Regions from separate parts of the Homo sapiens genome. Here regions 1, 3, 4, 5, 6 and 7 are each linked to region 2. Evidence: promoter capture Hi-C in 16 types of primary human blood cells and fetal thymus (Javierre and others, 2016). All regions are on one chromosome and are shown on one strand. Each heading gives the region's core, a stretch centred on a gene start or on the middle of the fragment in contact. The rest is flanking DNA. Distances are from core to core; before and after follow the strand shown. Region 1 overlaps MCMBP (minichromosome maintenance complex binding protein). Region 2 holds the start of RGS10 (regulator of G protein signaling 10). Region 3 overlaps GRK5 (G protein-coupled receptor kinase 5). Region 4 overlaps GRK5 (G protein-coupled receptor kinase 5). Region 5 overlaps GRK5 (G protein-coupled receptor kinase 5). Region 6 has its middle 3.0 kb from the start of GRK5. Region 7 overlaps MCMBP (minichromosome maintenance complex binding protein).

Region 1 (3,615 bases), core at 772-3,271, 320 kb after region 2:
TGCCAAACCCCAGGTCACAAAGATCTGTTTTCTTCTAAAAGTTTTATAGTTTCAGGTTTTATACTCAGATGTATGATCCATTTTGAGTTAATTTTATATAAAATATGAGGTAAAGGTTGAGGATTTTATTTTTCCATGTAAATGTTAAATTGTTCATGTCTTTGATGAAAAGAATATCCTTTTTCCATTTGAATTAGCTTTTGTATCTTTATTAAAATGCAGCGAGGGCCAGGCGGGGTGGCTCACGCCTGTAATCCCAGCACTTTGGGAGGCCGAGGCGGGCGGATCACCTGTCAGGAGTTCAAGACCAGCCTGGCCAACATGGCAAACCCCCGTCTCTACTAAAAATACAAAAATTAGCCGGGCGTGGTGGCACACGCCTGTAATCCCAGCTACTCGGGAGGGTGAGACAGGAGAATTGCTTGAACCCAGGAGGCGGAGGTTTCAGTGAGCTGAGATCGCACCACTGCACTCCAGCCTGGGAGACAGAGTGAGGCTCAGACTCAAAAAAAAAAAAAAAAAAAAAAAAAAAAAAAAAAAAAAGCAACGAAGACACAGGAATAAACCTTGAAAACATTATGCTAAGTGAGATAAGCCAGACGTAAAAGGTGAAATATTATTCTACTTGGGTGAGTTTGGATAGTTTGTGGCTGTGATCAGCAGAATAATGACCCCCTCCCACCCAACCAAGATACTGATGTTCTAATCCCCAGAACTTGTAAAGATATGTTACATAGGAATTAAGGTAGCAGATGGAATTAAGGTTAATAATCAGTTGAACTTAAAAAAAAAAACAATCTGGGTGGGTTCAATGTAATCACAACGGTCCTTAAATGTGGAAGGATGTGGCAAAAGAGGAAGTTAGAGTAAGATGTGAGAACAACTCGACTTGTTGTCTTTGAAAACGGAAGGGGGCCACAAGCCAAGAAATGTGGGCAGACTCTAGATGCAGGAAAAGAAAAGGAACAGATTCTCTCCTAAAGCCTCCACAATGGAATGCAAGTCCTGTCAACAATTTGATTTTATCCCAGTAAGACCCATGTCAGACTTCTGTCTCCAGGACTGTAAATAAAAACCTTTTGTTTTAAAGTCACTACATTTGTAATTTATTACAGGAGAAATAGAAAGCTAATACAGTGGTTTTTGAGGAACTGGTCCATTTCATCTAAGTTGATGAATTTCTATCTGTAGAGCTGTTTGTATTATCCTTTTCATGCCTGTACAGTCTACGGTGGTTATCTCCTCTTTCTTTTCTAATATTGGTAATTTGTCTTCCTTTTTTTCTTTTCTACTATTGGTAATTTGTTTTCCTTTTTTTTTTTCCTTTGCCAGTATGGCTAGAGGTTTACAATTTTATTGATTTTTTTTTTAAAGAGCTTTGAGTTTCACTGATTTTTTCTTTTTTTTCTGTTTTCTATTTCATGGATTTTTGTTCTCTATTATTTCTTTCTTCTGTTTAATTTGGGTTTATTTTGCTCTTCATTTCTAGTTTCATAGGTGGAAGCTTAAATTATTCACTTGAGACCTTCTCTTCTAATTAAGGCAGCTAATGCATCTAAGCATGTCTTTGGCTGTATCCCACAAATTTTGGTATGTTGAGTTTTCATTTTGGTTTAGTTCACAATATTCAAAGCTTTCCTTTGAGAGTTTTTAATCCATGGATTGTTTAGAAGTGTTCTTCTTATATATAAAGTTTACTATTTGGTTTATGACCCAGAATGTGGTTTATCTTGGTGAATTTACATGTGCACTTGAAAAGAATGTGTATTCTGCTGTCATTAGGTAAACAAATGTCAATTAGATCTACTTGGTTGACAGTGTTGTGTAGTTTTGTGTTGTTCAGTATTCTTTTTGATTTTCTACCCACTATTCTGTCAAGTACTGAGAGAGGAGTAGTAAAATATCTAACTACAATTGCAGATTTGCCTATTTCTTCTTTTATTTCTGCTGGTTTTTGCATCATACATTTTGAAGCTCTGTTGCTTGGTGCATATATAGTTAGGTCTTCTTGGTGAACTGACTGTTTTAACATTATATAATGTGCCTCTTGTTCTCTTCTCACACAACCTTTCTTAAAAACATTTTAGGCCAGGCGTAGTGGCTTATGCCCGTAATCCCAGCACTTAGGGAGGCCAAGGCAGGCAGATTACCTGAGATCAGTAGTTTGAGACCAGCCTGGCCAACATGGTGAAACCTCATCTCTACTAAAAATACAAAAGTTAGCTGGGCTTGCTGGTGGTACCTGTAATCCCAGCTACTTGGGAGGCTGAGGCAGGAGAATTGCTTGAACCTGGGAAGTAAAATGGTGCAGCCACTGTGGAAAAGTTTGGCAATTCCTCAAAAAGTTAAATATAAAATTATCATATGACCTTGCAATTCCATCCCTAGGTATATCTGGGAAAGAACCAAAAAGCTTACATTCACACAAAAACTTGTACATGAATGTTTATAGTAGCAGTATTTATAACAGCCAGGAAATAACCTAAGTGTCCATCAGCAAATATATGGATAAACAAAATGCAGTATAGACATACAATGGAATGTTATTTTCAGCCATAAAAAGGAATGCAGACTGGGTACAGTGGCTCACATCTGTAATCCCAGCACTTTGGGAGGCCGAGGCGGGAGGGTCACTTGAGGCCAGGAGTTTGAGTGTAGCCTGGGCAACATAGTGAGACCCCAAATCTACAAAAAATGATTTAAAAATTAGCTGGGTGTGGTAATACAGGTAATACATGCCTGTAGTCCCAGCTACTCAGGAAGCTGAGGCTGCAGGATCACTTGAGACTGGAAGTTCAAGGCTGCGGTGAACCATGATCTTGCCACACAGCATTCCAGCCTGGACGACAGAGCCAGGCTCTATCTCTTAAAAAAAAAAAAAAAAGGAATGCAGTACTGATGCATACTATGACATGGATGAACCATGAAAATATCATGGTAAATGAAAAGAAGCCAGACCTCAAAGGCCACATGTTGTATAATTCCACCTACACGAAACGTCCAGAATAGGTAAATCCATGGGCAGAAGTATAGTTGTTGCCAGAGATGGAAGACAGAAGAAATGGGAGAGACTACTAAAGGTATGGGGTTTCTTTTTGGAGTGATGAAAATGATAGGGGTGGCCGGGCGTGGTGGCTCATGCCTGTAATCCCAACACTTTGGGAGGCCGAGGCGTGTGGATCACCTGAGATCAGGAGTTCAAGAGCAGCCTGACCAACATGGTAAAACTCCGTCTCTACTAAAAATACAAAAATTAGCCAGGAATGGTGGTGCATGCTTGTGATCCCAGCTACTTGGGAGGCTGAGGCAAGAGAATCGCTTGAACCCGGTAAGCAGAGGTTGCAGTGAGCCAAGTTTGCACCACTGCACTCCAGCCTGGGCAACAGAGTGAGACTCCGTCTCAAAAAAAAGAGAAAAAGATAGTGGTGGTGATGGTTGCACAACATCATTATGAATACAGTAAAAAAAATTCAATTGTACATTTTAAAATGTTAAATTTTGTTATGTGAATTTTATTTCAAAGAAAAAAAATTTTTTTGGACCAGCCTGAGCAACATAGTGAAACACCATCTCTACGAAAATACAAAAAGTTAGCTGGGTGTGGTGGCAGGCGCC
Region 2 (3,666 bases), core at 1,089-3,588:
GCTGGGACTACAGGCACGCATCACCATGCCTGGCTAATTTTTTAATTTTTTTGTAGAGACGGGGTTTTGCCATGTTTCCCAGGCTTATCTGGAACTCCTGGGCTCAAGCAATCCTCCTGCCTCAGCCTCCCAAAGTGCTGGGATCACAGGTGTGAGCCACTGAGCCCGGCCTGAGACCGACCTTTCTGTCAGTGATGTAACCACATTTTATGAGGTTTAAAATTTGTTGCCCTGAAATAATTTGTTCCCTAAAACTGCCTTCAGCCTTTTTGGGGTGCAACCTGGCTACACGCAAAATCACCCCAAATCCATGTATCTCCCAGGATACAATGGTTCTATCTGTCAGTCTTCAACCCAAAAGCAATCTAAAGTAATAAGTAACGCGTACAGGGCTATTCATAGCAGCTCTATTTATAACAGGCAAAAGGGAGAAAAGCTACTAATTATTACACTTTTATTATGTGCCACACATTGTACTAGGGGCTTCATATGGTTTTGAGTATTTAATCCCATAACCCTATGAAACCCACTTTGCAGGTGGAGAAAGGTGCTGGAACATCAGCTCTCCTGAGTCAAAATGAAGCCTTCATTTTTAGCTTTGTTGATTTTCATGATGTAAATATCCCATCATAACTACTTTCAAGCTACCTATGGTTTACAACCAGTTTCCAAACTTTTTGAATATTTGGCAACTGGCTCTTGCAAGCCAGTTTGAGCCAGCTCCAGCACATCACTGAAACGGAGGCACAGAGAGATCAAGTAATTTGCCCAGTGTTGCTGAATGACAGAGTCAAGGTTAGAACCAAGAGTTTAATTCGAGTCCAGGCTCTGAGCAGCGCTCCACAGGCCTGTGCCAACCATAGAGACTGGTTAACATTAACACCCACAAGGGAATTCTTTGACTCACATGCAACACAAAAAGGTTTACATGACCACTAACGCTAACGGAGCACTTAGTACTTGCCGGGCAACAATGTAAGATCATTACAACAACCCTATGAAATCCTACATATTAAATACAATAATTTGCAAAACCTGATGGATGGAAGACAGGTTCCAATTAAGTACTTTAAAAGGCGAGTAGCTACTGTTATTCCCACTGTGCAGAACCTCATTCTGCAGAAAGGTCCCACGGCTGGTGAATATGGCGAAGGTGAGATTCGGATCCAGCCAGTCTGGTCCCAGTCTCTAAACCACAATGTCCCTCATAAAATACCAGGAGCAGAAAGGAAATGCACCAACGCGTTGGGACTCTGAGCGCCAAGCAGAAGTGAATCTTGGCGTGGGAAGCCCGGCAAAGCCCCCGAACTTCAGAGTCAGGGGAACCTGGGTTTGAAAGCCTCCCCATCACCTGCGGAGTGTGACTGGGGCAAGTTACCTAACAGCGCCTGGCTTCCGCTCCCTCCTCACTCACCGGGTTGTCCTAGGGGTGAAGGGAGAGTTCACCCAACGCGGTGGACAAAGCCCTTGGCGCACCCAAAGGCCTGCACAGGTCGTAGCTATTGTGATGAGCAAAAGGGTGGAAGGACCGGAATCAAGGGCACGGCTCCACCTTCACCGTGGGGTCTTTGGCCTATCAAGTTGCCCGAGATCGTGGCTCAGGCTGGCCCAAAGTGACGGCCAAGGCGAATCCTTCGTAACGTCAGAACTTCGCTGGCTCGGACCGCAGAAGTGCCCTTCTCCATCCTGGGGTTCCGCCACCCTCGCGATCCCACCTTTTGGCTCCTCGCGGCAGAAGCGAAGGCCCCCGACGCCCCAGGCCCAGGGGCCCAGTCGGATGCCCGGGTCCAGCCGTGCTCCCCCGGGCGCTCGGCATCCTTCCACCCACGCCCGCAGCGGAGGCGGAGAGCGTCACGGAGGGAGAAGCCCGCGCGCCGTTCCGCTTTCGGAATCTGGAGCCCCATGTCACCTCCAAAGTTTGGAGATTTGGGGCGCTCCTTTTTCTCCCAGACCATCACTAAAAAGAAAACTGCGGCTGTTCCTCTTTCAGCCAAACTTCCTCCCCGGGGCTCCCGGAGGAGCTCTGCGCTCCCGTCGCGGCTGGGACCGCGAAGGTGCGGTACCCAGCGGGGAGAGGTGGTGCGGTCGGCCGGGGCTCCAGTCTGGGAGGTACCACCGAGCCGCGCCCGAGCACAAGAGGGAGGGCAGGAGGCCGGGCGGGCGAAACGGCGCCCCGACCCCGAGCCCGCGGGCCCCCGAAGCCGCTTACCTGACGGCGGCCGCTTCCTGCTCAGCCGGCTCACGGCGCGGTTGAACATCGCCGCGGGCGCCCGAGGAGGAAGAAGGAGCAGCCCGGCGGCGCGGCGGCTGAGCCGGAGGAAGGCGAGGAGGAGGAGGAGGGCGAGGAGGAGGAGGAGGAGGGCAAGGAGGAGGAGCGGGCTCAGCACCGCCCCGGAGCTCTAGGTCCCCGCCCGCCGCCCTCCTCCTAGCCAGGCGCCGCGTGGCGCGCTCAGTGCGCCCTGCCCGCCCCCGCTGGTGAGGACTCGCGGTTCCGCTCCGGGGTGCCCGGGCGGGGCAGGGCAGGGCAGCCCCGGGTGACCCCCGATCGCCCAGAGTGTGCCCCGCGCCTGGGATAAGGTGCACTGGCCCAGAGGGAGCCCGCGCCGCCGGGAACTTAGTAGCCCCGCGGAGGCGGTTAGCGCGTCCCGGGGTCCCTGGCCCTCGCCTGAGATGCCGCCCCGGCCCGCCCCGCCCAGCTTCAAGCTCCCGGGCCCATCGCGGTCTCCCGCCTTCTCCCTGTAGCCCCGGAGAAACTGGCACGGCGCCGCGGGCGCACCGCGCTTCGGGGCTCTCAGCGAGCCTTCGCAGGTGGCGGGCGGGGTCCCCTCCCGGGTCACAGGCTGGGAAGCCTAGGCCTCGCGGTTCTGCAGAGTCCGGGCGCGGCCCAGCCTGTGGCCTTTGCCTCCTCGTCACCAGGATCCCCGCCTGCTGGGGCCTGGCTGCTCCTCGACTTCGTGGGCGCTGCGCCTTCCCGCCCCGCGAATGCGGGTGGGGCGTCCCCAGGGCCCGTGCGCTGAGCTAGCCGAGCCGCCGCGGGTGGGCGCCCTCTCCCCGGCCGTGCCGCGCGGGCGCCAGGACTCGGGGAGATCTGAGAGGATTCTGCAGGAACCCCCCGGTTCCTGCGCCGGGCGGTGCTCTGTCCCGCACACCGCGCTCTCGGGACACTTCTCTAACTTTGGGGACACGTGGGCACTGCCTCTGGCAGGGCCTTCAGGCTCCACGACCGGGACCACTCAAGCCCCCACGGCGTCACCTGCTGGGCGCTGCGCGCTCTACGGTCTCCTATTATTTCATTTCTTCTATGGAGCAGCCCCAGAGGGGATGTCATTAGCCCCCATTTTCTTGAACATTTGGTTTGCAAGAAATTGTCTTTCTGGCGAGTTTTATTTTTCTCCTTGTGTATCTGGCTTTGTCTCTAAATTGGTCTTTATTTTTAGCTGTACTAATTGCTATTTTTCCAAACCGTTCCCCAGTCGCCCTCCCCCCATCCCCCCGTCCTTTTGCAGTTTTTTTCACTACTTGGCACTTTCTTTTGTATCTTCTATTCTGAGCTTCCAGTTCTGCTCACTTTCCCTCTCCCTCTACCCACCCCACAGCCCCAGTTGCACCCCAAGTGTGGCCGGTGGTTGCTTGTTGTTTCCCTCCCCGCTATTCCCCCTCCAAAAG
Region 3 (3,737 bases), core at 342-2,841, 320 kb before region 2:
AGCTTCACATGCTTTTCACATAACTGCTAGAATGAGGTTGAGCAAATGGAAAGAAAAGAGGAAGCCAAGCAGCTTGATCCTTCCAGACCTAGGGATGGCTGATGACCTGGCATTTGAAGGATGTAATCGTTAAAGAAAAATTGCCTTTCTGCTCATGGGCAGGGAGGCTGGATCCAATTAAGACAAGGAAAACGTATGTTAACTTGGAGGAAAAATTTCTAAACAGTCAATTCTGTAATCCTCTCTGAAGAGGAAGAGGCCAACATGATGAGGCTTTATGGATGGTGCCAAGCCCTGTGATATATAATAATTAGTAACCACTGGTTATTTTGCCGCACACTTATTCTCCAAACCACTAACCATTGCTTGGGATGGAATGCACCAGGCCTAGATATTTGCCCCAGATGTCTTCCCTTCAGCAGTATCCAATTAGAGGGATTTTTACAAATTAAAGCTTAATTCTCTATAATATATAGCAAAATATAAATTAAGGAAGGAGAAACCCGATTTCCTTGGTTGGTTCCATGGGTTACGGAGGTGAGGGCTAGTCTTCAGGTGCACCTCTTAGTTTATGCTTCAGTGGCTAGTGGTGACTGTTCTATATCATGGTCCTTGGTATTTTTGCTAGTCTTTTTGGTAGCTTAAAAACATTTCAGAGGCGAGGCATGGTGGCTCATGCCTGTAATCCCAGCACTTTGGGAGGCCAAGGTGGGTGGATCACCTGAGGTCAGGAGTTTGAGACCACCCTGGCCAACATGGCAAAACCCCGTCTCTATTAAAAATCCAAGAATTAGCCAGGCATGGTGGCACGCGCCTGTAATCTCGGCTACTTGGGAGGCTGAGACAGGAGAATCGCTTGAACCCGGGAGGCGGAGGTTGTGGTGAGCTGAGATCGCGCCACTGCACTCCAGCCTGGGTGACAGAGGCTCAAAAAAAAAAAAAATTTGCAAAGGTAATACTCACTAAAGAAAGTCCAGGCCAGAAGTGGTGGCTCATGCCTGTAATCCCAGCACTTTGGGAGGCTGAGGCTGGCAGATCACCTGAGGTCAGGAGTTTGAGAAGAGCCTGGCCAACATGGCAAAACCCTGTCTCTACTAAAAATACAAAAAAATTAGCCTGGTGTGATGGCATGCGCCTGTAGTCCCAGCTACTCGGGAGGCTGAAGGGAGAGAATGGCGTGAACCCGGGAGGCGGAGGTTGCAGTGAGCCGAGATCGTGCCACTGCACTCCAGCCTGAGGGACAAAGTAAAACTATATCTCGGAAAAAAAAAAAAGTCCAAAGGACCATGTAAAGCATCTCTCTCTGTCTTCCCATGCACCCCTGCTACCAATCCCACCACTCAGAAATAATTAGCGTCAGCATGTAGGTGAACGTTTTCCCAAATCTCTGTATATGCACATACGAACATCTAGATAGAACTTTACACAAAATGGGTCCCAGTGTACACACTGTTCCGCAGCTGTTTTCAGTCCACAATATGCTGCAGAGCCTTTCCATATCTGTGTTTATAGTTTCCCATGAAATGGATGGGTGTCAGGAAAAATTGTGAAAGACTTTGGAAGCTGAATGCTGTTTCAATGGAATGCTGGGTATGTTCTAGCAGACTCTTAGGGGTTATCCAGTTCTAAAGGGGTCTGTGTTTTTCATTGTCTTTGACTAGTTTTATAATATATTTAACCAAGCCCCTAGAATGAGCCATTTAAATTCTCTAATTTTTAAAGATAATATAAAGGAATATCCTACCCATGATATATTCATCTTTATGCACTTATTTTAAAGACTTCTGTTTTTTTCCTGTGGGAGTATCTGCCTAATAACATCCCCTTTCCTCTTTGGGAAGAATCATAATAATTTGTGAAATAGGCTTCAGTGACCCTAGGGATGTACAATGTAGATTTTCTTATGAGAAAGGAGCATGATACATGTGACATGACATTTCTGAGACCTTTGGGACTTAACATCCCTCACCTCTGAGTAATGAGTCATCTTTTCTATGGTATTCAAAGTTTGAATTAGGGAAATTAAGGTTGAGTTCAGTCAAAGACTTTAGTTGTAGATGACTTTTCAGTTGCCCTTGGATTTTGCATGTGTAAATCAGGCAGGGGGTACACTCAGAAAACAAGCCCACAGCTTCGTAAGGTGTCTTGGATCTCTCACTGTGGATCATCAGCACAACCCTGTGGGCCTGGGAATTGTTTTTGCTGTTGCTGTTAGTATTATTCTAGTTTGAGAAAGAAGGAAAACAAGCTCAGAGAGGTGAAGTGGTTTTCCAAGATCACATACCAAGGAGCCACTTCCCCTTGTTTCCTGTGGTGCCAATCCATTGCTTCGTTTTTCGTGTTTGAGAGCTTTTGCGTTTCATTGTACATTGTACAATTCTAGGGAGCCATTGTTCCCATCCTAAAGCTGGTAGATGTGTAAATGTATCAGGTCGGGGGGCAGAAAGTGTCTTGAGGAAGGGACGCCCCTTCCTAATCCCCTCCAAGTGCTGCCTGTGCTGGTGTCAGTCCTCCTGAGGTCATTTGCCCTGTCTTTGATCTGGCACAGTATCCTCCTCTGTGGAATTCTGTAGCTCTTCCTCTGGTAACTGCTTTCACTAAAGGTTTGCATGGAATTTACCTAGACAAGGGCCCTACGGTTCCCACCTGAGAATAGAAAACGCCCATTAAAAACAGCACCACACAAAACAAATCAGTGGCCCCTCCTCCTGCTCTGCCTCCCTCCGAGATAAGCTTGGCATGAGGGCATAGTCCAGAGCCCCACGGCCTTCAGTAATTTTGTTAACAATTGGAGGAGAATGGCATTTTCTTCTGGGAAACATTTGCAGATGTGTGAGCTAGCTCTACATGGGGAAGGGCTGCCCCTTCACTGCGTGCTGAGGCTACGGGCTCCGTGTCCTGTCAGAGTGTGGGAGGGAGCTCCTCACACTGAAGCCAGCTCCTTCCTTCCGCAAAGAAGGGATCTGAGGGCCAAAAGGGGCCCGCATGGGTGGCCGTGCAGGAGCAGAAAGAGGCTCCAAAGCAGGATGGGTCCCCTGGCCTGGATTTTCCTCCAGGGCAGCTCTGCAACTCTAACACCCATCCCCAGGCTGTGTGTTTCCTAGGGATACGTAATAAAGTGCCACCAACTGGGTGGTTTAGAACAACAGACATCTATTGTCGCACAGTTCTGGAGGCCAGACGTTTGAAATCAAGGTGTGTGCAGGGCCGTGCTCCCTCTGAAGGTACCCGGGGAAGACCCGTTCCAGGCCTCTCTCCTTGGCTTGTTGGTGGCTGTCTTCTCCCTGTGCGTCTTCCTCTTGTGCATCTGTCCCTGTGTCCAGAGTTATCCTTTGTATAAGGACACCAGTGCTATTGGATCATGGCCCACTTGAATGACCTCATGTTAACTTGATTACCTCCATAAAGATCCTATTTCCAAATAAAGTCACATTCTGAGGTACCGGGGGTTAGGACTTCAACATAATCTTCTTTGGAGGACGCAGTGAACCCTGGAACACAGGCCCTGCCTGTACTGAAGCAGCAGCTTTTGGGGATAGCCTGTATTTTTAAAACAGGAGGTTCTGAGGATGAACCAGGCGTGGGAACTGCTGCTCTATAGAACCCTGGAGCTGGTGGGTTTTCTGAGTGCCTTCTGAGATTATCTTGGACATCCAGACTACTCTGACCGGGTCCCCAAATAGGACTCTGCAGGTTCCCTGGCAGTTGGTTTCTGTCTTCTGCTCAAATATTTCTAG
Region 4 (3,696 bases), core at 1,039-3,538, 260 kb before region 2:
CAGGAACGTGAATGTCGGCTCTCCAGCCAGCAAGGCCAGCGCCCACCCATCCATCCCTCTGCCATCCTCCATAGGTGGTTCTGATGGCTCTGGTCAGCTGTCATTCGTCCTCCCATCTCTCAGCCTTTGTAGGATAGTTGATACCTGTTTTATTCTTTTATTGTTATTTTAGGGGTCTCAGCATGGAAATATATTGGTGTATAAGTACCTGTTCCAGTCCTTGTTTTCACTTCTCTTGGGACTATACCTAGAATTGGAATTGCTAGATGCTATGGTAATTCCGTGTTTAATTTTTTGAGGCACTGCCAAATTATTTTTCTCCCAGAATGCTTTGGAGGCAATGACTTCCTGTTTCCTTCCTTCCTTCCTTCCCTCCCTCCCTCCTTTTCTTTTTTTTTTTTTTTTGAGACAGAGTCTCACTCTGTCACCCAGGCCAGAGTGCCGTGGCCCAATCCCAGCTCACTGCAACCTCTGCCTCCCGGGTTCAAGCAATTCTCCTTCCTCACCCTCCTGAGTAGCTGGGATTACAGGCGTGCGCCACCACGCCCAGCTAATTTTTGTATTTTTAGTAGAGACGGGGTTTCATCATTTTAGTCAGGCTGGTCTCAGACTGCTGACCTCATGATCCACACGCCTTGGCCTCCCAAAGTACTGGGATTACAGGCATGAACCACCACGCCCATCTGATTTCCCGTTTTCTGCAGGGTAAAGCCTCAGGGCCGGCCCATTGCTTTCAGGACTTTTCTCACTCTGTCCCCAGCACAAGGATCTTCTCCATCTAGATGGATTTGCCACCATGTGCTGCCTCCATGCTTGGGCTGGGTCATTCTGCTCACATGGACACCTCTTCACCTTCCTCTCAGGGACTCTGCACATGCTGCCTTCACTGCCTCCTTGGGAAAAAATTGCTCCTCCCGGCTGCTCCCAAAGCAGTTCTTGTGGGTCTGGCCAGGGACCCCCCTAACCCTACTTTACTAACTACCCTGGGTTGGCAGTCTCTGCCCCGAGCTCTCCTGTTCCTCTCCCCTGCTCTTGAGCTCCCATTAGGTGTCGAGCACCCAGAAGTGGTGATGGCTCGTTCATTTTGGCCATGTCTGTGCACGGCTCACCCCTGGTGCTTGTATGCGGATGCTTGTGACCACACAGCCTGTATTTGAGCCACTGTTCTGTAATCAGCCTCTCCTGTGGTGGCATCTTCTTCACAGGGAGGGATCTGGCCGACCTCGGGTCTTAGCACGGCTGAGCCTTTGAAGCTGGCAGGTTGCCCTGGGTTCCCGGGGTGGTGGTTGGCCGCCTCTTCTCTTGGGCCCCTGCCCATTTGGAAGCGTGCCCTTGAGCACTGCCATCCCCGAGCCAGGCCATCAAGTCATCCGATCCCCCGAGGTGGCTGAGAAGCTGGCTGAATGTCCCTGCTGTGAACCAGTGATGGAGAACCAGGCTGCTACTTAGCTTTGTAGATGGATTCGGTAAAGACTAAATCTCTTATTTCTAAGACGTGATCTCATTGCACAGACAACAGCCTGAGTGGCCTGTCACCCAAGCAGAAATCCTGGAGACATCTGTTGAGCCTATCCTGTTTCTCATTGCCATTGGTGACCTCCCTCCTGGGCATCTGTCCCTTGCCCTCCCCTCCTTGGTCTGCGTCTCTTGCTCTGCTGGCCACTGTCGCTTTCTGTGTGATCTCCCCATGCCAGTGTGCCCTGCTGTGATTTGCCTTTTCACACAGCACCTCTTCCTTGAGTTCGGACCCAAGCTGCACTCTCCAAACCACTGACTTCACTTGCTCCTCCCCCCACTCACATTTTGGGGCCCTAAATTACTTTAGTATCGTGAGTGAGCACTGGGCTGTCTCTTTCACAGTCTAGATTTGCACAAACCTTTCTCTGAGCCTGGACCATTCTCCCAGGTCTTCACCAGGCCAGTTCCTCCTGGAGCTCCAGACTGCAGCAGAGCTGTCTCTTGCTGGGATGGGAGACACTTCTCTGGCCCCAGTGCTGCTGTTCCCCCTGCTAGTTTTCCCCCTTTCCTTGGCAGCCCGTCTCACCAGGCTGTCTTGTAACAGTCTGTTTTCCTTGTCTGTCTCCCTCACCAACCTGATGTGTCTGCACTGCTGTGTCCTCAGCTCCTAGACCAGGGTCGGGTTCCGGCTGGGGCAGGAGAGGCGTGTGCTGCGGCCCTGGATGGGCTCATGGGCAGATGGACTATCGAGCAGATGGATCAAGGCCCCCTGTGGGTCCAGGTTTCTCCCCAGAGCCTGAAGGGTTGGCCCCGGTGGTCTGTGACAGCTTCCTGCTCTGGTGGTCAGCAGCTGGGCACAGAACTACCTGGAGTGGAGGTGAGATCCCAGGAGTTGTCAGGAGAGTCCAGGGTTGGCGGGGGCCCCAGAGGCTTCCGGGAGGCTTCTAGAAGCTCTTGAGCGCTTTCTCCTGCCCAACATGAATGTCTTGTCTTAAAGGTGAGGCCTTGTGAGAAAGCAGGACTAGGTGAGGCCGGAGGAGTGACAGTCGCCCAGTTGATGCTGTGGAGTTCTCCAGGCTGCTGGCCCATCCAGTCCCTCCTCTAGGCCCTGAGTTACTGTGTCACTGGGGCCTGGTCCTGCTGCAGAGTTGGGGCACATCTCAGGGCCTTTCAGAGCTGATAAGGGGCCTGGCCTGCTTTCAGTTTTTTGGTTTTGTTTTGAGGCTTCCAGTTCATTAAAACAATTAAAATGCCCTAAGAAAGCTATAAATATTAATATTATGGTATTTTAAACTGGTAACCTTTGTCAGGATGGTGTTTTTTTTTTAAACCAAAAACAACATAGCAATATAATTAGTCTAGTCACAAGGTAATGCTAGGATTTATAGGAAATATTAATTCATAGTGTGCTCAGTCTGGGTGGACCTGTGATGGGACGGGAGTGTCCTCCAGCCCTGCAGCTCAACATGGTCACATTTGGAGATGAGATGAAGTATTTGACTTTGAGGCTTCTGTGAAAATGAATCCACACCCCATTCCCACCTCGTCCCCTAACCTGCACCCCTCCAAGCCCTGCAAGTCCTTCTTCTAGGCTGGGAAATGAGGACATAGGAGTGAGGCTGCAGGGAAGGAGTGAGACATACACGTTCCTGAGGCCTTGAGTTCCAGGCTTCAGGAACGCCTGCCCGTGCCCGGGCTCTGTATTCCCTGGCCAGTGCTGATGGTGTCTCTGGCAAAAATGCAAGTACCCTTGGAGGCTAGGCCTTGGGGTGGAGCTAGCTCAGACACCTGCCCTCTGGGAACATTGCCTTCTTCTGCTTTCTAATGCTGATGGCTTCCCTGAGATCCCAGAGTCATCAAGGGTCACCCTGCAGATGGGACCATGAGCCCCACTCCCCAAAATGTGGCTTGCTCAAGGTCACATAGGTAGTAGCAAAGCTGAGACGTGAGCCTGGCCCTTCAAAGCCTAAATTGGGGATAACTCTGGCAAGAGAATGTTTCAAGGTTCATCTTTGTGTCCCCAGAGCCTGGCATGTCATAGGGAGATAGAAAGTATCTGTTGAATGAGCAAGAGCAGCCAACATGGATCGAGAGCCAGGAACTGTGGTAACTGCACATCTGTCTGATCTCATTGATTCCTCCCCAGCTCTGGGCAGTGTACTTCGGTACTCGGATCCCCTGTGGGCAGATGAGGAGGAAGCTGGGTACAGGTAGGAAATGAAACCTGCCCAACATCAA
Region 5 (3,715 bases), core at 160-2,659, 280 kb before region 2:
GCAGTGATTCTGAAATGGAAAAGAGAACATTCTCTCCCATAGGCCCCCCTGTCTGATATAACTCCCTGGTGGCACGCCTCAGTGAGGGTGGCACCATCGCAGGTGGGAGGGAGTATGTCTATTTCAAAAGTGCTGGGGCAGGGGCCGGGTACGGTGGCTCACACCTATAATCCTCCACTTTGGAAGGCGGAGGTGGGTGGATTACTTCAGGCCAGGAGTTTGAGACCAGCCTGGCCAACATGGTGAAACCCTGTCTCTACTAAAAATACAAAAATTAGCCAGGTGTGGTGGCGGATGCCTGTAGTCCCAGCTACTCAGGAGGCTGAGGCAGGAGAATCATTTGAGCCTGGGAAGTGGAGGCTACAATGAGCCGAGATCATGCCATTGAACTCCAGCTTGGGCAACAGAGCGAGACTCTGTCTAAACAAAAGAAAACAACCCCCAAAAAAGTGCTGGGGCAAAGTGGCTGAGCCCACTGGTGAAAAGGCGCTGTGGATGGGGTGCCTCCGACTTGTGTGCAGCTCCTCAGTTATGGCTATGCCCTGGCTGTGACAAGGACAGGATTCTGGCACAGCTAGTCTAAGATCATGTTTTGGGGTCCTTGCTCAGAGTGTTGCCTTCATTCTCTTTTATTTTTTTCCCATTTATTTAGTGAAAATGTAATTTATATACAGTAACATCTGCCTCTTAAAAGTGCATAGTTCTGCGTGTTGTAACTGTGTACACCACGTAGTTAGTACACATGGTGTCATGTAACTACCACCACAATCAGGAGTACTTTCATCACCCCCTGAAACTCCCCCAGACTCCCTTGTAGTTACCTCCTACTCCTAGCCCCAGCCCCTGGCAACCACTGGTCTGCTTTTTGTCTTTACAAGAATGTCATATACATGGAATCACACCGAGTGTAGCCTTTTGAGTCTGATTTCTTTCACTTAGCATAATGTATTTGAGATTTGTCTGTGTTGTTATGTGTATCAGTTTCCCTTTATTTCTGAGCAAGAGTTCAGGGTTTGTTTATTCCCCAATTGAAGGATGTTTGGGTTGTTTCCAATTTTTGGTGATTATGAATAAAGCCACTATAAGCATTCACGAACAGTTTTTTCTCTGAACACAAGTTTTCTTTTCACTTGGGTAAATATGTAGGAGTGGGATTGCTGGGTCACATGGTAGGTGTATGTTTAATTTTATAAGAAACCTGCAAGCTGCTTTCCAAAGAGCTGTACCGTCTTGCATTCTCAACAGTGATGCATGAGCATTCATTATCTTTCATTATGTTCTAGGCTCTCACATTGATCAGAGGCAATATGGGCTTGGCGTTTTAATTGCAAGGAACAAAGACTCTGCCTCCCTTGCCTGTTTTAGTTTAGGTTCCCCAGAAGTGGACTCTGGTGCAATGATTTGAGTGTAAGTAGTTTATCCGGGGGTCAATGCCAGGAAACTCCCCCCACCTCCAGCAGGGGAGTGGAGAGGGGAGAGGAAAAGGAAGGTAGCTGGTAAAGGGTATGTCATCAGGCAGGAAGCCTAGTTTCTAGAATCCATCCCCTGTCAGTTATTGACTGAGGGCTCCTGCGGGAGTCTTGTCAATTCCCTGGCACTCCAGCCTGCCCCCTTCTCAGGAGAGCTGGCTTTGCTGGCTTTGGCAGCCAGTCTCAGGTGAAGGGTATTTGGAAGTCTGGCCCAGGTGCAACAGTGACAGGGCACTCTTCCCAGGTGATAGCGGTTCCTTCCATCCTCTTTCCATGACACTCCCTCTTTCTTTTTCTTTTTTTTTTTTTTTTTGAGACAGAGTCTCGCTCTTTCGCCCAGGCCGGACTGCAGTGGTGCTATCTCGGCTCACTGCAAGCTCCGTCTCCCAGGTTCACGCCATTCTCCTGCCTCAGCCTCCCGAGTAGCTGGGACTATAGGCGCCCACCACCGCGCCTGGCTAATTTTTTGTATTTTTAGTAGAGACGGGGTTTCACCGTGTTAGCCAGGATGGTCTCGATCTCCTGACCTCATGATCCTCCCGCCTCAGCCTCCCAAAGTGCTGGGATTACAGGCGTGAGCCACTGCGCCCGGCCTAACACTCCCTCTTTCATCTTGGCTCTGTCTACTGGTGGCTTCCTTTTCTGCATCATACTTTCTGCTCATTGTGTTTCTCTTCATATGTTCCCACTACCAGCTAACTGAATGTTGACACCCCAAAGAGAGAAAAATTGGTTGGTGAGTTAGTCACTGCTTTTCTCTTGGACAGAGCCCTCAATTTAAGTCATCTGGTAGGCACACCAGTCATTGTTGGCTGCCCTTGGGTCAAGTGGCCTGCCCTGGGCCAACCAGCTGTGACCAGGGAAGTGGGTCAGAGAGTTCAGAGCAGCGCTGTCCAATGGAACCTTCTGTGATGATGGAAATGTTCTGTATATTATGGTAGCTACTAGCCATGTGTGGCCATTGAGTGCTTGAAGTGTGGCTTGTGCTACCAAGGAACTGAGTTTTTAATTTCATTTAATTTTAATAAATTAAGATTTAAATTCACATAGCTGCATATGGCTAGCGGCTACCATAGTGGACAGCATAGCTCTAGAACATGGGCCCAGTTTTTGGCGATTATGAATAAAGCCACTATAAGCATTCACGAACAGCTTTTTCTATGAACATAAGTTGTCATGTTCTTGGCCTCTTCTCTCCACTAAATAATGTGGTATAACATTCTCTTGAGATCAGTTGTTTTTTTTTTTGAGACGGAGTCTCCCTCTGTTGCCCAGACTGGAGTGCAGTGGAGCGATCTCCGTTCACTGCAAGCTCTGTCTCCTGGGTTCATGCCATTCTCCTGCCTCAGCCTCCCAAGTAGCTGGGACTACAGGTGCCCACCATCATGCCCGGCTAAATTTTTTTGTATTTTTAGTAGAGATGGGGTTTCATCGTGTTAGCCAGGATGGTCTCGATCTCCTGACCTCGTGATCCACCCGCCTCGGCCTCCCAAAGTGCTGGGATTACAGGCGTGAGCCGCCGCACCGGCCAAGGTCAGTTTTTTAAAAAGCCAATTAATATCTGATTTGTGATTCTGAATCTTTAACATATTTAACCGTCTGCTTTTTTTTTTTTTTTTTTTAATTCACAGATGACATGGTCTTTTTTTTTTTTTATTGATCATTCTTGGGTGTTTCTCACAGAGGGGGATTTGGCAGGGTCATAGGACAATAGTGGAGGGAAGGTCAGCAGGTAAACAAGTGAACAAAGGTCTCTGGTTTTCCTAGGCAGAGGACCCTGCGGCCTTCCGCAGCGTTTGTGTCCCTGGGTACTTGAGATTAGGGAGTGGTGATGACTCTTAACCAGCATGCTGCCTTCAAGCATCTGTTTAACAAAGCACATCTTGCACCGCCCTTAATCCATTTAACTCTGAGTGGACACAGCACATGTTTCAGAGAGCACAGGGTTGGGGGTAAGGTCACAGATCAACAGGATCCCAAGGCAGAAGAATTTTTCTTAGTACAGAACAAAATGAAAAGTCTCCCATGTCTACTTCTTTCTACACAGACACGGCAACCATCCGATTTCTCAATCTTTTCCCCACCTTTCCCCGCTTTCTATTCCACAAAACCGCCATTGTCATCATGGCCCGTTCTCAATGAGCTGTTGGGCACACCTCCCAGACGGGGTGGTGGCCGGGCAGAGGGGCTCCTCACTTCCCAGTAGGGGCGGCCGGGCAGAGGCACCCCTCACCTCCCGGACGGGG
Region 6 (3,663 bases), core at 75-2,574, 340 kb before region 2:
ACCATGTTGGCCAGGCTGTTCTCGACCTCCTGACCTCAGGTAATCTGCCCACCTTGGCCTCCCAAAGTGCTGGGATTACAGACGTGAACCACTGTGCCCTGCCCATAGTAAAACTTTTAATGTCCAATTGATAACCACTGAGGTCCATTGATGAAGGGAATTCAGAGGGGAGGAAATGTTAACTGGAAACCTCAAGCCTCCAGATTTGCTTTCAGCTCACATTTCTCCTCTTTTGGTGCCTGAAATCACTTCTTCCCGTTTGCAAAGTCCTTTGTGTGTGTCTCCACAATGGCCCTTATTCCATTGTATGGAGGTTGTTTGCATCCGGTGTGTTTTCCTTCCCAGTGGCGAGCTCCCTGGGAAATTGCCTTGAACTCCCTGCAGGGCTGGACACAGAAAGGTAAACTCTGAAGGAGAAGAGGATAAATGAGAGAATGGAAGCTCTATCTGCAGCTGCTTCCTGAGGATTAAAAAGCTTTGAGTCAAGGAAAGGAATGGAAACTCCAGTTCCTGGACTATTCAGAAAGCCAATTTGATTATTCAGGCAAAAGGAATCTATATTTTAGAAGGCCGATAGGTTTGTGGCTTTCCAGCATAGTAGACTTCTATTTACAAGAACTCTGACCCAGCAGCTTTATTCATGGCAGATACAGGTGCTGAGAGAAGAATTTGAAGGTTCCCTGTTTCTTTTGCTTTTTTATTTTTTAGAGACAGTCTTACTCTGTTACCCAAGCTGGAGTGCAGTGGGGCGATCATAGCTCAGTGCCACCATACCTGGCTAATTTTTAGGTTTATTTCGTAGAGACAGGGTCTCGCTATGTTGCCTAGGTTGGTCTCGAACTCCTGGGCTCAAGCGATCTCCACCCCCCCATCCCCTGCACCCTTGCTTTAGCCTCTAAAAGTGCTGGGATTGTAGGCATGAGCCACTGCATCTGACTTCTTTTGCATTTTTGGCTCAGCTGCTCCTGAGTGGAGTCTGAAGCTGGCTGTCTTTGACATATTCCCATCCCTCCATCCTCACCCCCACTCCTCCATTTGGATTTCCCTTCTTGCTCTCAGCTGGCTGTCAATGATTCCCTACTTAGCTATTTATATTTAATAGCCTACTCTTCCTTGAATCAAACCCATTTTTCAAGAAGACCACGAGTTGTTAGTGCAGTTAATTGAAAGGAATAAAGCCATAATGGTGGAATTATAGATGAAAATGGAAAACCCCTTGAAATCTTAATGATTTAGTCAACTGGGTGCTTTGCCTTCTTATAATACAAGTTCATCCCGGCAGCCACACAGAACAGTTACTACCAAGCTGTGCTGGCTAGCTTGCGCAAGCCAGAAATTAAGTGCACCAACTCTGAGTCAGGCTGACAGGTTCAAATCCCGGGTCTTCTACTTATTACTTATGTGACCCTGGACAAATTATAAAACCTTTCTTTTTTTTTGAGGAAAAAAAAAAAGTCTCACTCTGTTGCCCAGGCTGGAGTGCAATGGCATGATCTTGGCTCACTGCAACCTCTGGCTCCCGGGTTCAAGTCATTCTCCTACCTCAGCCTCCCGAGTAGCTGGGATTACAAGGCACCTGCCACTACACCCAGCTAATTTTTGTATTTTTAGTAGAGACGGGGTTTTACCATGTTAGGCTGGTCTCGAACTCCTGACCTCAGGTGATCTGCCTGCCTTGGCCTCCCAAAGTGTTGGGATTACAGGCGTGAGCCACCGTGCCCGGCCTATAAAACCTTTCTTAACCTGGTGCTTTATCTATAAAATAGGCCTGTGTTCCCTACCTCATCTGGATATTGTGTTCAAGGAGATAATCCATTTAAAAGACCACAAGAGCCTGGCCCACAGTTGGTGTTGAGTAAATGCTAGCCATTATTGTTCCATTCTTGCATTGGAGTGTCTGAATTTCCTCATAGAGGCACAAAAACCTGATGTACAACCATGTATTTGTGTAGGCAGGATGCAACAGCTTGTAGTGGACAAAAAAATAGTCTAACACTAACTTGCTGAGTGACCATGCCAACTCACTTACTTTGGGTCTGTTTCACATCTGTAAAATGAGAGGGAGAGGCAGGGGTTCCCAGGATGGAAAACTTAAATGTCTATACAGGCCAGATAAATAAAATCACTAGTGACTTGGGCTGGGTATAAGACAATAGGGAGTTACGGTAAACTAGAAAGCTTTTCAACTCTGAGTGTGGTCTACTGACCACGAGGATCGACAGAGCCCTGGAGTTTGTTAGAAAGAGCAACATCTCAGAAACCACCCCAGATCTATCCAAATGCAATCTGCATTTTAACAAGATCCCCCGTGATTTGTATGCTCATGAAACTTTGAGCCAGGCATGGTGGCTTATGCCTGTAATTCCAGCACTTTGGGAGGCAGAGGCGGGTTGGATCACTTGAGTCCAGGAGTTCAAGACCAGCCTGGCCATTATGGCGAAACCCCGTCTCTACTCAAAATACAAAAATTAGCCAGTCATGGTGGCACACACCTGTAATCCCAGCTACTTGGGAGGCTGAAGTACAAGAATCATTTGAACCTGGGAGGCCGAGGTTGCAGTGAGCCGAGATTGGGCCACTGCACTCCAGCCTGGGTGACAGAGTAACTGTCTCAAAACAAAACAAAACAAAAAAACAAACAAAAACAACCTTTGAGAAAATTGTTTTTTTTTTTTTTTTTTTTTTTTGGTTCGGAGTCTCGCTCTGTCGCCCAGGCTGGAGTGCAGTGGCGCGATCTCGGCTCATTGCAACCTCCGTCTCCCGGGTTCACGCCATTCTCCTGCCTCAGCCTCCTGAATAGCTGGGACTACAGGAGCCCAACACCACGCCCGGCTATTTTTTTTTTGTATTTTTAGTAGAGACAGGGTTTCACTGTTAGCCAGGATGGTCTCGATCTCCTGACCTCGTGATCCTCCCGCCTCGGCCTCCCAAAGTGCTGGGATTACAGGCGTAAGCCACCGCGCCCGGCCCAAGAAAATTGTTAAGGTGCATAAGCCATCTAAAGGCATTCAAAAATTTTCTTTCTTTTTTTTTTTATGTTAGCCGAATAAACAAACTTCGGGCTTCATCAGGCCCTATGCTGCCAGCAAGTGACCAGCGTGGTTGGTGGAGGGCTCTAGGAGCTGCCAGCTTTAGGGGTCTCGCTGTCTGAGAGAGATCCTTTCATTAAAGGTTAGGGCTCTAGGCACGTGAATATGTAGCAAAGACCAAGCCTGGATTGCTTAGAACAGTAATTCCTGGAGTGGTAAGTGCCTGAAAAGTTACCCGCTGAGCCCTCCGCCTTCTGACAGGTAAACTGTTGTTGCCCCCATTTTGCAGACAAGATAAATGAGGCCCTGGGAGACTCACTGACCCAAGTCTAGACACCAGGAAGTGGTGGTGGTGGGTATACTCCCCCAGGAAAGCAGGTAATCTTGGGTTGTTACAATCAGTGACCAGACCAGTTTCCAAGGCCTGGAAGGTTTATTGATTTCTTTATATTCTCCAATGCATAATAACTGTTCTCTGTTTCTCTCGGCACCTCCCTGCGACTTCCTGGCAGCCCTGGGGACAGAGGGTTTCCTCCTTCTGGACAGAGAAGGCCCAGAGTCGGCTTCTGAACGGATATCCGGCCCGCAGGATGCAGAGGAGGCAAAGGCCTCATTGTTCTTTGGGGCCTGCCTG
Region 7 (3,799 bases), core at 683-3,182, 300 kb after region 2:
GCTGCCTGCCTGTCTGTGCTCTTAACCTCTGTGATGGTTAATACTTTGTCAATCTGACTGGATTGAAGGATGAAAATTATTGTTCCTGGATGTGTCTGTGAGGGTGTTGCCAAAGGAGATTAACATTTGAGTCAGCGGGCTGGGAGAGGCAGACCCACCCTCAGTCTGGGTGGGCAGCATCTAATCAGCTGCCAGCATAAAGGCAGGCATGTAAAGAGCAGACTGGCTGAGTCTTCCGCCTCCACCTTTCTCTCATGCTGGATGCTTCCTGCCCTCAAACATCAGACTCCAAGTTCTTCAGCTTTTGGACTCTTGGACCTACACCAGTGGTTCACCAGGAGCTCTTAGGCCTTCAGCCACGGACTGAAGCCTACACTGGTGGCTTCCCTACTTTTGAGATTTTGGGACTCAGGCTGGCTTCCTTGCTCCCCAGCCTATTGTGGGATTTTACCTTGTGATCATGTGAGTCATTCTCCTAATAAACTCCCCTTCATATATTCATCTATCCTATCAGTTCTGACCCTTTAGAGACCCCTAATACAACCTCTAAACTAAACTACATCAATAGTGAAGTAACTAAAGCAGGAAAGTCATCACAATCAGAAATTGCCAAGATGAACAATCTCATATACTATTATTAAGGGACGGTTAAGCTTATTTAAAGTTGTTTAAAATTTTTGTTTTGTACCATTTTTTTTTAACTGTGAAAAATGTTAAGTTCATCCTACACAGAAACTAAGATGATTAATGTCCGGTATTCAACAAGAGGACTCTGGTGTAGATGAGGGACATCAGCCCTTGCTTTTGGCAATCTCAAAACAAAACAAAAATGAATGAGGAAGGTCTAGATTTCCAAGATATGTTGTTAATAAAAAAAATTAAAAAGTGTAAGAGTATATATACCATGTTACCTTTTATAGAAGAAAAAGGTAGAAATAAAATGTATACGTATCTTCATATTTTTGTAAAAAAATAAATACAGGAAGGATAAACCAGAAACTGTGGTTCCCTAAGGAGGCTGGGTGGGAACAGACAGCAGGAATGGGGATAGCCGAGAATGACACCTCTGAGAATCTTTCTAAGTAAAATAAATAATGAAATCACACTGAAGGGGAAGAAAAGTTACCTGAGTAAGTGGAACATAGCTCTGACTACACAGCTGCATTCTAAAATAAAAATGAACTGGAAATGTATTGAACTCTAATTACTAGGTTTCTGTTTTGTAGTGGTATGGGTTACCAATTCTGAAATTCCCTTCTGTATATGGTAGAAATGGGGAAACAACAGATTGTGAATAATGGGAATCAAATTTGTTAGAAAAAGAAGTCATAAATATAGAAAGGAGAACAACTAGAACATGTGACTCCTGCTGTGCTGAACTGGAATCAGAAATATGAACCCATGGTTTTTCACAGACATTAGAAATACACAAAACATGCATGTGAGTGTGTATGTGTGCATTTAAATGTGGGTGCGTATATATGTATCCATATGCTGCATGTATCCTAGCTCTGTCTACTTTAAGGGCCTAGATGCAAATCTAATCCAGTACCAACGAGCACATCTAGGACTCAGATCTTCAAAGCATACGATGAAGCTGCAACAGCTTAATATGCCAGAAAATAAATGTTAAAAAATGATAACATCATCTCAAAAAAAGGACCCGGCACCTGCTTAAAGTGGCTCCCACTAGCCAAATCTGGGAAAATTTGGGTCTCGAAATAAAATAATGATATTAACATTGAATAAAATCAGAATCTATTAGTCTATACTAAATATAAGTAAATACATTACTTGAATAAACAAATGGAAGAGGTATCTTTTATAGTAGAATGCCAATAAATAAATGTACTGCGTTAGAAAATTGCCAACAAAGTAATAACTGATTCAAGCAAGAATCATCAATGAATGCTAAAATAAATTGGTGAAAGTTTAATGAGAAACTGGATATTTATGTCCCCAAGTACCTTCCTCCAAGTTACTTGTCAATTACAAAGTGAGAAATGTAACTTTACAGAAGAGACATCTGGAAGTCACCACCTTAACCAACTAATGAAAATTAACCTCACCAGTAAAGGGACAAACTGACATCGCATGCCTCCTGCTGTAACATACTGAGGATACATCAATTCTGTAATATTCCTGCCAAAAATGCAAAACATTGAGTCTAACCATGAGGAAACAAGTAACTGGTAACTGGCTTACACTCTTCAAAAGCATCAAGGCTGTCTGCTCTCTACCACGTGAGAAGACAGCCATCTGTAAACCAGGAAGCGGGCCCTCACTAGAAACCAGATCTGCTGGGAACTTGATTTTGGACTTCCCAGCCTCCAGAACTACTGGAAGACATATATTTCTGTTGTTTAAGGAAAAAAAAAAAGTGGCAAGACCATGAAAGACAAAGGCTGAGGACTGTTTCAGATTGAACTCTAGTTATTTAGGTTTATGTTTTGTAAAGGTATGAGTTAACAATTCTGAAATTCCCTTCTCTATGTTGTAAAAATGTGCAAATGATAAGATTGTGAAAAATGGGAATCAAGTTTAAGAGAGTTACACTAATACAGAAAGGAGAACAAGCAGAACGACACCTGTGGTGCTGAACTGGAATCAGAAATACAGTATGAACTCAGTAGAAATAGAGAATGAGCGAGCTTCTGAACCCTGGACTGGGGGATGCAGAAGGGAGACGTGTAAGAAAGAACATGATTAAGACAATTAGTGAAATTAAGTATAGATTGTGGATTAGTGTATTGTATATTTGTGGCAAATTTCCTAGTTTTGATACCTGTACTCTAATTATATATGAGAAAGTCAGTACTCTTAGGAAATGTTGACAAGCAGTTAGGGGTAAAAGGGCTTGATTTCTGCAACATACTTTCAAGTGTTTCAGAAAAATGTGTGCATAGAGAGCACAAATGAATGACAAAACACATGGGGTGCAAGTGTTTACAACTGGTACATCTGGGAGAAAGGGAAAAGGGAGTTCTTTAAAACCATCCTGTAACTCTCCTGAAAACTTGAAATTATATAAAAATAAAGGAGACCAAAAAAAGAGCACACAGACTCACCTTTCATCATTATTCAGTATACTCAGCACAGGATCCACAGACAGTATGCCATATAGCTCAAGAATGTCATTTACTTTGAAACAATCCCAATCTTCATAAACCTAACAAGAGACCACATGAAATCACACTGTTAGAACAGACACAAAGCTTAAGATATTAGTCTTGAAGTACCAATATCTTGGAATTTTAGATCAGGAAACAGACCTTAAAGCAAGTCCTTTATTTTATAAATTTTTATAAATTGAGACCAAGAGTCATTCTGCTAGTTAGCAAATAAGTGAAAAACCAAAACACAGGATGCCTAACTTCCAGACTAATGTCTGTTTTCAATATACCACAGTACTACAAAAAAAAAAGGCTTTTCCTAAAATTAAAAAAAGCCTTTTCCCAAAGGCTGACAGTTAAAACTAGAACTGTGCACTATCTCAAAACCTATTAAACCACACCAAGAAAAGGAAAAAACAAAAACAAGATGATTAACTTTGCATTTATTCATAAACTGCAACATCGGATTAACACAAAACTTGGAATGGCCAGAAGATTTTTCACAATTTAAAAAAAAAAAAAAACCTTTCAAAATTGTCTGTCATGATGGACTTAGTAATAGTCAAGGCCATTTACTGATTAGACCTGGTAGAAGCAAGGCAGGGGAAAAAATGGTAATTTTGGTCCCTGTGCCATATGACTTAAGTGTCATTTCAGTTAAAACCACTGAGAATCTGGGTGCAGTG

The links. The method cuts DNA at HindIII sites, captures the fragments that hold promoters and counts their contacts. A CHiCAGO score of 5 or more calls a contact.
Region 1: a contact is called between a fragment that was not itself captured here and the fragment with the promoter of RGS10 in region 2, in 7 of 17 cell types (total CD4 T cells, activated CD4 T cells, naive CD4 T cells and 4 more). The highest score is 10.5, in total CD4 T cells.
Region 3: a fragment that was not itself captured here is called in contact with the fragment with the promoter of RGS10 in region 2 in 11 of 17 cell types (non-activated CD4 T cells, total CD4 T cells, activated CD4 T cells and 8 more); the score reaches 13.5 in non-activated CD4 T cells.
Region 4: a contact is called between a fragment that was not itself captured here and the fragment with the promoter of RGS10 in region 2, in 1 of 17 cell types (total CD4 T cells). The highest score is 5.5, in total CD4 T cells.
Region 5: a contact is called between a fragment that was not itself captured here and the fragment with the promoter of RGS10 in region 2, in 1 of 17 cell types (non-activated CD4 T cells). The highest score is 6.6, in non-activated CD4 T cells.
Region 6: a contact is called between a fragment that was not itself captured here and the fragment with the promoter of RGS10 in region 2, in 11 of 17 cell types (non-activated CD4 T cells, naive CD8 T cells, total CD4 T cells and 8 more). The highest score is 16.7, in non-activated CD4 T cells.
Region 7: a contact is called between a fragment that was not itself captured here and the fragment with the promoter of RGS10 in region 2, in 2 of 17 cell types (total CD4 T cells and total B cells). The highest score is 6.6, in total CD4 T cells.

Annotation. Positions count from the first base shown.
Region 1 is chr10:119,863,224-119,866,838 of GRCh38, forward strand. All of the region lies in intron 1 of MCMBP (minichromosome maintenance complex binding protein), which reads right to left. Among named protein-coding and RNA genes, the nearest start is that of MCMBP, 7.8 kb to the right of the region's middle. The HindIII fragment of the contact is 780 bases long and covers 1,632-2,411 here.
Region 2 is chr10:119,540,381-119,544,046 of GRCh38, forward strand. RGS10 (regulator of G protein signaling 10) reads right to left here and starts at 2,339. Exons shown (of 5, transcript NM_001005339.2): 1 at 2,210-2,339. The coding sequence starts at 2,258. RefSeq lists silencers at 1,792-1,961, 2,012-2,751, 2,762-2,831, 2,882-3,041 and enhancers at 3,252-3,331, 3,594-3,666. The HindIII fragment of the contact is 10,649 bases long and covers 1-3,666 here.
Region 3 is chr10:119,219,896-119,223,632 of GRCh38, forward strand. All of the region lies in intron 1 of GRK5 (G protein-coupled receptor kinase 5), which reads left to right. Among named protein-coding and RNA genes, the nearest start is that of GRK5-IT1, 13 kb to the left of the region's middle. RefSeq lists an enhancer at 2,478-2,989. The HindIII fragment of the contact is 2,279 bases long and covers 453-2,731 here.
Region 4 is chr10:119,280,393-119,284,088 of GRCh38, forward strand. All of the region lies in intron 1 of GRK5 (G protein-coupled receptor kinase 5), which reads left to right. Among named protein-coding and RNA genes, the nearest start is that of GRK5-AS1, 57 kb to the right of the region's middle. RefSeq lists an enhancer at 702-1,202. The HindIII fragment of the contact is 8,364 bases long and covers 1-3,696 here.
Region 5 is chr10:119,257,301-119,261,015 of GRCh38, forward strand. The region is part of intron 1 of GRK5 (G protein-coupled receptor kinase 5); the gene reads left to right. Among named protein-coding and RNA genes, the nearest start is that of GRK5-IT1, 51 kb to the left of the region's middle. The HindIII fragment of the contact is 6,652 bases long and covers 1-3,715 here.
Region 6 is chr10:119,202,776-119,206,438 of GRCh38, forward strand. No RefSeq gene overlaps it. Among named protein-coding and RNA genes, the nearest start is that of GRK5, 3.0 kb to the right of the region's middle. RefSeq lists enhancers at 3,303-3,382, 3,493-3,542, 3,563-3,663. The HindIII fragment of the contact is 1,703 bases long and covers 474-2,176 here.
Region 7 is chr10:119,844,545-119,848,343 of GRCh38, forward strand. MCMBP (minichromosome maintenance complex binding protein) reads right to left here. Exons shown (of 16, transcript NM_001256378.2): 8 at 3,069-3,169. Among named protein-coding and RNA genes, the nearest start is that of MCMBP, 26 kb to the right of the region's middle. The HindIII fragment of the contact is 2,562 bases long and covers 652-3,213 here.